Regions from separate parts of the Homo sapiens genome. Here all the other regions are linked to region 1. The links are contacts of gene promoters, found by promoter capture Hi-C in human tissues and cell types (Jung and others, 2019). All regions are on one chromosome and are shown on one strand. Each heading gives the region's core, a stretch centred on a gene start or on the middle of the fragment in contact. The rest is flanking DNA. Distances are from core to core; before and after follow the strand shown. Region 1 holds the start of DCXR (dicarbonyl and L-xylulose reductase). Region 2 holds the start of MRPL12 (mitochondrial ribosomal protein L12). Region 3 holds the start of NPLOC4 (NPL4 homolog, ubiquitin recognition factor).

The links. Contacts are between HindIII fragments. The study calls those that stand out against the background at their distance.
Region 2: the fragment with the promoter of MRPL12 here is called in contact with the fragment with the promoter of DCXR in region 1 in 2 of the 25 tissues and cell types used here (lymphoblastoid cells and mesendoderm cells).
Region 3: the fragment with the promoter of NPLOC4 here is called in contact with the fragment with the promoter of DCXR in region 1 in 1 of the 25 tissues and cell types used here (mesenchymal stem cells).

Annotation. Positions count from the first base shown.
Region 1 is chr17:82,036,346-82,038,946 of GRCh38, reverse strand. It overlaps DCXR (dicarbonyl and L-xylulose reductase), which reads left to right and starts at 1,250. Exons shown (of 8, transcript NM_016286.4): 1 at 1,250-1,316; 2 at 1,400-1,497; 3 at 1,934-2,088; 4 at 2,184-2,226; 5 at 2,304-2,403; 6 at 2,499-2,563. The coding sequence starts at 1,265. It overlaps DCXR-DT (DCXR divergent transcript), which reads right to left and starts at 1,029. Exons shown (of 2, transcript NR_159948.1): 1 at 679-1,029. RefSeq lists a silencer at 1,030-1,859. The HindIII fragment of the contact is 8,854 bases long and covers 1-2,601 here.
Region 2 is chr17:81,701,917-81,704,616 of GRCh38, reverse strand. MRPL12 (mitochondrial ribosomal protein L12) reads right to left here and starts at 1,250. Exons shown (of 5, transcript NM_002949.4): 1 at 1,042-1,250; 2 at 187-373. The coding sequence starts at 1,115. It overlaps HGS (hepatocyte growth factor-regulated tyrosine kinase substrate), which reads right to left. Exons shown (of 22, transcript NM_004712.5): 22 at 2,496-2,700. RefSeq lists a silencer at 883-1,262 and enhancers at 1,163-1,766, 1,753-1,822, 1,767-2,370. The HindIII fragment of the contact is 19,787 bases long and covers 1-2,700 here.
Region 3 is chr17:81,635,215-81,638,700 of GRCh38, reverse strand. It overlaps NPLOC4 (NPL4 homolog, ubiquitin recognition factor), which reads left to right and starts at 1,589. Exons shown (of 17, transcript NM_017921.4): 1 at 1,589-1,785. The coding sequence starts at 1,771. It overlaps TSPAN10 (tetraspanin 10), which reads right to left and starts at 1,505. Exons shown (of 4, transcript NM_001290212.2): 1 at 1,295-1,505. RefSeq lists a silencer at 1,650-1,859. The HindIII fragment of the contact is 41,196 bases long and covers 1-3,486 here.

The DNA of each region.
Region 1 (2,601 bases), core at 1-2,500:
CAGCCTCCCACAAGAAGCTGGTGGAGCAGAGTGTTCCCTGACGCCTCCAAGGAAAGGAGACTCCCCTTCGCAGTCTTCTAAGTAACGGGTGGCTTCCCAGACAACGGCATTACTGCTTGACCAAGGAGCCCTCAAGCAGCCCTTATGCGGGAGTGACAGAGGGCTCACCTCTTGCCTTCTAGGTCACTTCTCACAATGTCCCTAGGTTATATTAGTAATGCAACAAAGAGTAATATTAAAAGCTAATGATTAATAATGTTTATACTAATGATTGATAATTATCCATGATCATGATCATTTTTATATCTAATTTGTATTATGACTATTTTTATTTTAACTGTTTTTTTTTTAAAGATGGAGTCTTGCTCTGTCGCCCAGGCTGGAGTGCAGTGGCGCAATCTCGGCTCACTGCAAGCTCCGCCTCCTGGGTTCGCGCCATTCTCCTGCCTCAGCCTCCTGAGTAGCTGGGACTACAGGTGCCCGCCACCGCGCCCGGCTAATTTTTTGTATTTTTAGTAGAGATGGGGTTTCACCGTGTTAGCCAGGATGGTCTCGATCTCCTGACCTCGTGATCCACCCGCCTCGGCCTCCCAAAGTGCTGGGATTACAGGCGTGAGCCACCGCTCCCGGCCTATTTTCTTTGTTATACTGAAACAGTTTGTGTCTTCAGTCTCTTGCCTTGGCATCTAGGTAATCCTTCGCCCACAGATGAAAGCGGAGCTCTGCTGACATTGGTGTCTTCTCCAGACGTAGTTGGTTGTCCAAATTCTTTCCCTTGGCTTTAAAGTGAGCCGGCGGTGTCCTGCTCCCAAGCCTGAGAGATGATGGGCACAGGCGACACTTTTTAGGACATGCCGATGTTTTCAGAAACAAAACAAGAAATGTTAGCCCTGAAATTCTCCATTTCACGTGTTCTTCCTGATATTAACCACACATTCTTTCCGATATTAACCACCACATCGTCTTTTTGCAATAATCTTGGCAGGGAAAAATATGCTAGCCAGGGTCCACTACGTCGATTTCAAGCACGGAAGATGGGTCACACCAGGCACTTCAAAAGACCCGTCCCTGAGGCAGCGGAGACCCCGCCCCGCCCCGGCGCGCCCACTCCTTTCGGCCAATCACTGCAGCGGGGAGCAGCTATTTGAATGTCCCCACCGCCTATCTGAAGGCCGCCCTGCCATTGGCCCCGCCGCGCCCCGCCCATCGTGGCCAGAGCTTCAAGTTCCGCAGCCCCAGTGCGGAGGGCGGAGACTGCGCCGACATGGAGCTGTTCCTCGCGGGCCGCCGGGTGCTGGTCACCGGGGCAGGCAAAGGTGGGCGGCGGGGAAAGGTGGGCAAAGGCCGGCGGCGGGCAGAGGCGGGCAGGGGACGCCTTCACTGAGCCCGCTCCCGGCAGGTATAGGGCGCGGCACGGTCCAGGCGCTGCACGCGACGGGCGCGCGGGTGGTGGCTGTGAGCCGGACTCAGGCGGATCTTGACAGCCTTGTCCGCGAGGTAGGTCCCGCCGGGTCCCAGCGCTGCGAGGCGGCGAGCCAGGAGGGGGCGGCAGCGAGCGGGGGCGGTACCTCTGTGCGCGACTCCGCCTCCCCTCGCGGGCGCTGCGCTTCTCACCGCGGCCTGGGCGCCCGCGCACCCTCTCTCGGGGCTGGTGGCCTGCGTGGGCGGCCGGGTGGTCGGCAGAGCCGCCGGGGCCCCCGGGCTCAGAAAGAGGCCGAAATGGCTGCGAAGCAGGCCCCGGGCAGGAGTCGCTCGGGCGCAGGGAGGAAGTGAACCGGCCGGAGGTAGCGCCCGGCTGCTGGCCCCACAGTCCCGACACCTTCGGAACTCCTAACTCCTTTACTTGTCCGGCTGAAAGGTCACCAGCCCCAGTCCCCAGCTGTGCCGCTTGCTGGGCACAGAGCCTCTGGTAACTGCCCCCTGATACACACAGTGCCCGGGGATAGAACCCGTGTGCGTGGACCTGGGTGACTGGGAGGCCACCGAGCGGGCGCTGGGCAGCGTGGGCCCCGTGGACCTGCTGGTGAACAACGCCGCTGTCGCCCTGCTGCAGCCCTTCCTGGAGGTCACCAAGGAGGCCTTTGACAGGTGAGCCTGTGAGGGCGGAGGAACCTCAGGGAGGGGCTGTCCTGGAGGACGCAGCAGCCCTAATCTCTGACCAGGGTCTGTCCCTCGGCCTCTAGATCCTTTGAGGTGAACCTGCGTGCGGTCATCCAGGTGTCGCAGGTGAGCTGCCCTGTGGGCTGGACGGGAATTCTCGTGAGTGATGCCAGCTCTGCCTCACGGTCTCGCTGCGATTCCAGATTGTGGCCAGGGGCTTAATAGCCCGGGGAGTCCCAGGGGCCATCGTGAATGTCTCCAGCCAGTGCTCCCAGCGGGCAGTAACTAACCATAGCGTCTACTGTGAGTGCCCCAGCTGTGCCCTCAGCCCCACCCCAGCCCCAGCCTCGCCCTCATCACCGACCCCAGCCCCAGCCAGCTTGGGTTCCTCTTCGTAGGCTCCACCAAGGGTGCCCTGGACATGCTGACCAAGGTGATGGCCCTAGAGCTCGGGCCCCACAAGGTGAGCAGGGCTGGGGTACCTCCCCCAACCTAGGACAC
Region 2 (2,700 bases), core at 1-2,500, 330 kb after region 1:
CAGTGTCCACAGCTGGCCCTCACACCAGCCGGAACCTACTGAGGAGGGGCAACTAGCCTGGCATGGACCTTGCACCTGGACAAACACACTTTTGACAATTTACCAAACTCCCAAAATACACCAGGAACAAAACACAGGGGCCCTGAAACTTCCAGCCCCTGGGTCTGTGCCACCCTCTCACGATACCTTCAGGAGCTCGTTGAGGTCTGAGATTTCCAAGAGAGTGAGGCTGGCGATGTCCTGGACCAGCTGCTGTATCTTGGGGGGGTACTCCTTGGGGGCGTTATCCAGGGGTGCACCAGCGAGGGCCTCACACCTCTGATGGCCGCTGCTCCTCATATGTCGCACGGCACAGACACATGGCACCTGTCGCCTAGCCCCCACCCCCAATTAAAACAGACTTGTCAGTCCTGGAATGGAAGGGGCTGCAGAAACCAGAGGGGCAGGACAACTGGGGGACTGGTGGGTGCCATAAGCTCAGGCTGGTAATCACTAGGGCCGGAAATTACCTAGCTCCTTGGTCCCAGTCCAGGGTTCTCAGACCTCAAGGGGTCCGTATTGATAAGATTTGCAAGTTACTTTAAATTCTTCAAAGAGCCTTAGAAAGCCACGTGTTTATTTGCAGCCATACCACTCAAACCTCAAGTTTCTGGTTTGAATGAACTACATCAACCCAGCGGTGGCGAAACTATTACTTAGGTGCATCTTCCTGCGCAAAGCCTCCCAAAACATGGGGGCCCCTGGCCGCAAAACGCCGCACCCACGGATGGGCCTTTGCTGCGGAAAAGGCTGAGGCCAAGGGAGGAGCAGGGAATCGTCCAAGGTCATCTGGGGCCGACCCCGGCGCTTTCCACGGCCCAGGAGGGAAGGGGCGTGCGCACCGGGAGGCCTCCTCCCCGCGCCCCCGATGGGACCCCCAAGCCCGGCCTGGCCGCTGCAGGGAGGCCGGCCCCGCCGCCCTCCTCGCCCGGATCGACCCCTCAGTGCCCGGCTGCCCCCTAACCCGCCTGCCGGCCCGGACCGCCCCAGGATCCCGCGTACCTGGCAAGGCGGAACGCAGCGGCCCGAAGCCCAAGGCAAGGCCCCCACAGGGGGCGAGCGGCCGCCGGCAGCATCGGTCCGCGGGCTGGAAGGTCACACGCGGTTCCCCGGGAGGAGGCGACGCTCTAGCCGCCTCGGCCGCCGGGCATTCGAGCTGGGGAGGAACGCTCTAGCCGCCACGGCTGCCGGGCATTCGAGCCGGAAATGACGCTCTAGCCGTACCTCGCGCTAGCCTCGTCTCACCCTGAGATTACCCACAAGGCGGCGCGCTGCGCAGACGCAAAAGCGTCGTCTGTGGCGGCAGCTAGACATCGGGCGACCCTCGTCCCGCCAGGTTTTGGGGTCGCGCAAACGAGCGACGGGGGCTGGGGCTCCGGATTCAGGTGTTCTTTCTTCAGCGCTCACGGGTTTCTGTCCGTACGCGATGCGAGCGAACGTCGCGGTCGAGGCTAGGGCCCCGAAGCCCGCAGTAATCCACGTCTCCCGCCCGCTCCGGGCCCCCAGTGCCGCCGTCGCGGGCGGAGGCGCGAGGTCTGGGCTTTGGCGCCTTCGCAGCCGCAGGCGACATCCTCTTTCCTAGCTAAAGCCCCAAACGCCCAGGTGGCTTCCTGGGAGAGCACGGCTGAGCCTCCGCCTTCAGATCAGAACAGGCAGAGCCTCCAAGGGCGGCTTGGGCCCAGTGCCTGCTTATCCTGCCCGTCTCTCCACACTTCTTCTTTCCCTGTCCGTTGGAGTCCATTCCTTCCTGGAAAAGCCAAAGCCGCGCTCCCCTAAGAGGCCTGGATGTGAAGGTGAGTGAGACGCCCTGGCCTCTGGGTGCAAAGGCCGGCGCCTGCCGCTTTCAACACTCAGGAGGCGCGTTTCAGCCCCGCTGGCCCCCGGCCGCAGACTCGGAGCGCTGAGCTCCCACCGTTCCCATCACCCGACTCCCTTCCCAGGAATGAGGAGCACCCGGGAAGCTTCAGCCACTACACGAAGGAGGCGCCAAGCCCAAACTCCTCCCCAGCTACCGGCGGGGTCAGTGCAGAGCCGCGGAGGGCACACATGAACCCTGGCACGCAGCCTCAGGGAGGGGCAGGCTGGAAATGACCCTGCCTGCAGCTGGGCCATCAGCCTGACCACCTGCCCCCTGAGCAAACGTTGATGCAGGTCGGGCGCGGTGGCTCATGCCTGTAATCCCAGCACTTTAGGAGCCCGAGGCAGGTGGATCACCTGAGGTTAGGCGTTCACGACCAGCCTGGCCAACATGGTGAAACACCGTCGCTACTAAAAATACAAAAACTAGCCAGGCATGGTAATGGGGTGCACCTGTAGTCCAGCTACTCGGGAGGCTGAGGCCCGAGAATCGCTTGAACCCAGGAGGCGGAGCTTGCAGTGAGCGGAGATCACCACTCCAGCCTGGGTGACAGAGTGAGACTCCATCTCAAAAAAATTAATTAAAGAAAAAACGCTGATGCTTTCTGAAATACATTTTATTATCGCTGTACCATTCTGGGGCACTGGAGATGGCAGCTGAGAAGCAGAGAAGCTGGAGACCTGAAGCCTCCACCCTTGGCTGTGGCTGCCGAGAGAGGCCCCTGCAGAGGGAGCCCCAGGCCACACCCAGACACCACAGCCAGCTCACAGTGCGGCCAGAGGGCACAGGCTGCTTGGGGGGTG
Region 3 (3,486 bases), core at 340-2,839, 400 kb after region 1:
ACAGTTTTGACTCCCTATCATTTCACCTCTGACCCAACCAATCAACACTCCCTACTTTCTGACCCCATACCCACCAAATTATCCTTAAAACCGCGGATCCCCAGCCGGGCACGGTGGCTCACGTCTATAGTCCCAGCACTTTGGGGAGGCCCAGGTGGGCGGATCACCTGAGGTCAGGAGTTCAAGACCAGCCTGACCAACATGGAGAAACTCCGTCTCTACGAAAAATACAAAATTAGCCAGGCATGGTAGTGTGCGCCTGTAGTCCCAGCTACCCGGGAGGCTGAGGCAGGAGAATCACTGGAACCCAGGAGGTGAAGGTTGCAGTGAGCCGAGATCGCGCCACTGCACTCCAGTGTGGGTGACAGAGTGAGATTCGGACTCAAAAACAAAAAAAAACAAAAAACAAAAAACTCTGATCCCTGAATTCTCAAGGACACTAATTTTTTTTGAGTAGTAATAAAACCTCAGTAACCTGTACAAGCTGGCTCTGTGTGAATTAAACTCTTTATTGCAATTCCCCTGTCTTGATAAAGTCTAGGCAGTGGGCAGGGACAATATGTTGGGTAGTTACAGTGGCACCCTGAGCAAACTAATACAATTACTAACATAATTTAATCAATTAATGTAATTTAACATAGTTTAAAAAAACTGTCACAGTAATTGTGATGTTGTGAAATATGTATACATTTAGTCTTCCGGTTTCCTGGTATCCAACTCCAAAAATCCTTAGAATCTGTGAAGTGACGTCTTTTTTTTTTTTTTTTGAGATGAAGTCTCACTCTGTCGCCCAGACTGGAGTGCAGTGGCACCAACTCAGTTCATTCTAACCTCCGCCTCTTCGCTTCAAGAGATTCTCCGGCCTCAGACTCCCGAGTAGCTGGGATTACAGGTGCCCGCCACCACGCCCAGTTAATTTTTGTATTTTTAGTAGAGACGGGGTTTCACCACGTTGGTCAGGCTGGTCTTGAACTCCTGACCTCAGGTGATCCACCTGCCTCGGCCTCCCAAAGTGCTGGGATTACAGGCGTGAGCCACCGCGTATGGCCTAATTTTGTATTTTGAGTAGAGACGGGGTTTCACCATTTTGGCCAGGCTGGTCTCGAACTTTTGACCTCAGGTGATCCGTCCACCTTGGCTTCCCAAAATGCTGGGATTACAGGTATGAGCCACCGCGCCCGGCCTGAAATGCAGTTTAAACTCGTTTGTTTTTCTTATGTTAAATTTAAAAAATACTTAAAAAAAAAAACATGAAGGTGTGATCCTGCCTTCCTGAAATTGTTTCTCTACTTACCTGTGCATGGAGAGAAGTTTGGAATGCTGTTTCCCCAATTATAATACGCTATAATACGCAGCAGTAGTTATTTTTGGGTGAGACTTCGGATGCTCGTCTTTGCTTCCTTTTTGGACTTTCCTGTGCCGCTTGGGTTTCCGAGGACGAGCAGAAGTAATCTCAGACGCAACTTTCCAAAATCCCCTCCTCCAGTTGCAGGGATGGCGGGGGCGGGTCAGCGGCGCCGCCCTGCGCATGCGTCGAGCCGTTGGTGGGGCCGGAACCTGGTTTCCCGGCCTCGCGCCCGAGGGGAGCGTATTGAGCGAGGCACCGGGACGTCGGCGGCTGGCGGAGCCGGGCGGGCGAAGCTGGAGCGGCGGTGGCGGCGGCGTAGGGAGGCCGGGGCCGGGGCTGAGGCCGCGGCCGGGTCTGCGAGGCCCTTGGGGCGGCAGGCGGCGGCGGCCCGGGGCTCGAGCCCGGAGGCAGGAGCAGCCGCCATGGCCGAGAGCATCGTGAGTGCGGCGGCCGGGCGGGAGCGGGGACGCCGGGATGAGGCAGCAGATTTGCCGGCCTCGGCCTGTGGGGGAGGCGGGCCTGCCGGCGCCGCGACTCGGCCCCTTTCTCTTCTCTCGCCAGGGCTTTCTCTGTAGTGGCTGGGCCCCTCTCGGGGACTTTCACCCCCCTCGGCTGCTTCCCGTCCGTGTCCCTCCCCAGGGGACTTACGACCCCGGTTCCCCGCCCTGGGCAGGGAAAGGCCGAGCCTTTCTAAGCAGGGAGAATGGACTGTGGCGAAGAGAAACCGCCCTCCTTCCCCACCCGTTTCCCGGCTCCAGGAGACTTCCTGGTCTAATTCCAGGGACTCCCAGCCAGTCCTGCCCCTCTCAGAGCCAGGGACACCTCTTATCCTAATCTCCCTCTGATTCTCTCCTCCTGCTCTCCCGCTTCCCAGCAAGTGCCTTGTCATGAGTCACTAAGGAGAGCAGCTCTGCAGACGGGGACGTTACAGAGCTCCCTCCCCACCAGAAGACCTGGGAAAATGAAAACACAGTAACTTGCCGGCTTTGCTCCTTACTTGGAAGGACAACTTGACAATTCCTCTTTAAAAGGAATGTTGTAAATGATGTTGATTTCACTTTTTACCTGAAATTGAAATTGTCGGCCCGGCGCAGTGGCTCACGCCTGTGATGTCAGCACTTTGGGAGGCCGAGGCGGGTGGATCACCTGGGGTCAGGAGTTCGAGACCATCCTGGCCAACATGGCAAAATCTTGTCTCTACTAAAAATACAAAAAATTAGCCGGGCGTCATGGCGCACTGTAATCCCAGATACTTGGGAGGCTGAGGCAGGAGAATTGCTTGAACGCGGGAGGTGGAGGTTACAGTGAGCTGAGATCCCTCCATGGCACTCCAGCCTGGGCTATAGAGCGAGACTGCGTCTCAAAAAAAAAAAAAAAATTGTCACACACTCCTCCTTAACGTAAAAAATATCAGTGACAAATCAGAAAACCAGTCCCTCGTTAAGTTGTGAGAAGTTTCTTCCCAAAAGTAAATGTGATGGGAAAAAAACTAACTGACCATTGGACAGGAGCATTTTGGTTAATATTAAGGAAGATTTGGGATTTCTGGGGGAAGCTTAGCAGTATTGGGTGAAGAGTAATGTTCATACTGTAGCATTGTGACAGTCTCTGCAGTTTTGCCAGGTGTTGTCTAGAATAGGTCTCCAGGCCCGGCGCGGTGACTCACACCTGTAATCCCAGCACTTTGGGAAGCCCAGGTGGGTGGATCACCTGAGGTCAGGAGTTCAAGACCAGCCTGGACAACATAGTGAGCCTAGGTGGCGTCACTGGACTCCACCCTGGGCGACAGAATGAGACTGTCTCACACACACAAACAAATGGGTCTCCAGGAGAACCTAGCACTTATTTGCAAGGCTGTTCTCTGGTGGTTCCATCATCTCTCCAGTCAGGGGCCCTCTTGGTGCCTCCATGTTTCCCAACCTGGAGATGAGTGGAATGAATATATGGCCCAGGAGAAACTTAGGAAACGTCGACTCCTTTTTTTTTTTTTTTTTTAACCTTATTTTATTTTTTTGAGATGGAGTCTCACTCTGTCGCCCAGGCTGGAGTTCAGTGGTGCGATCTCTGCTTACTGCAACCTCCGCCTCTCGGGTTCAAGAAATTCTCCTGCCTCAGCCGAGTAGCTGGGGTTGCAGGTG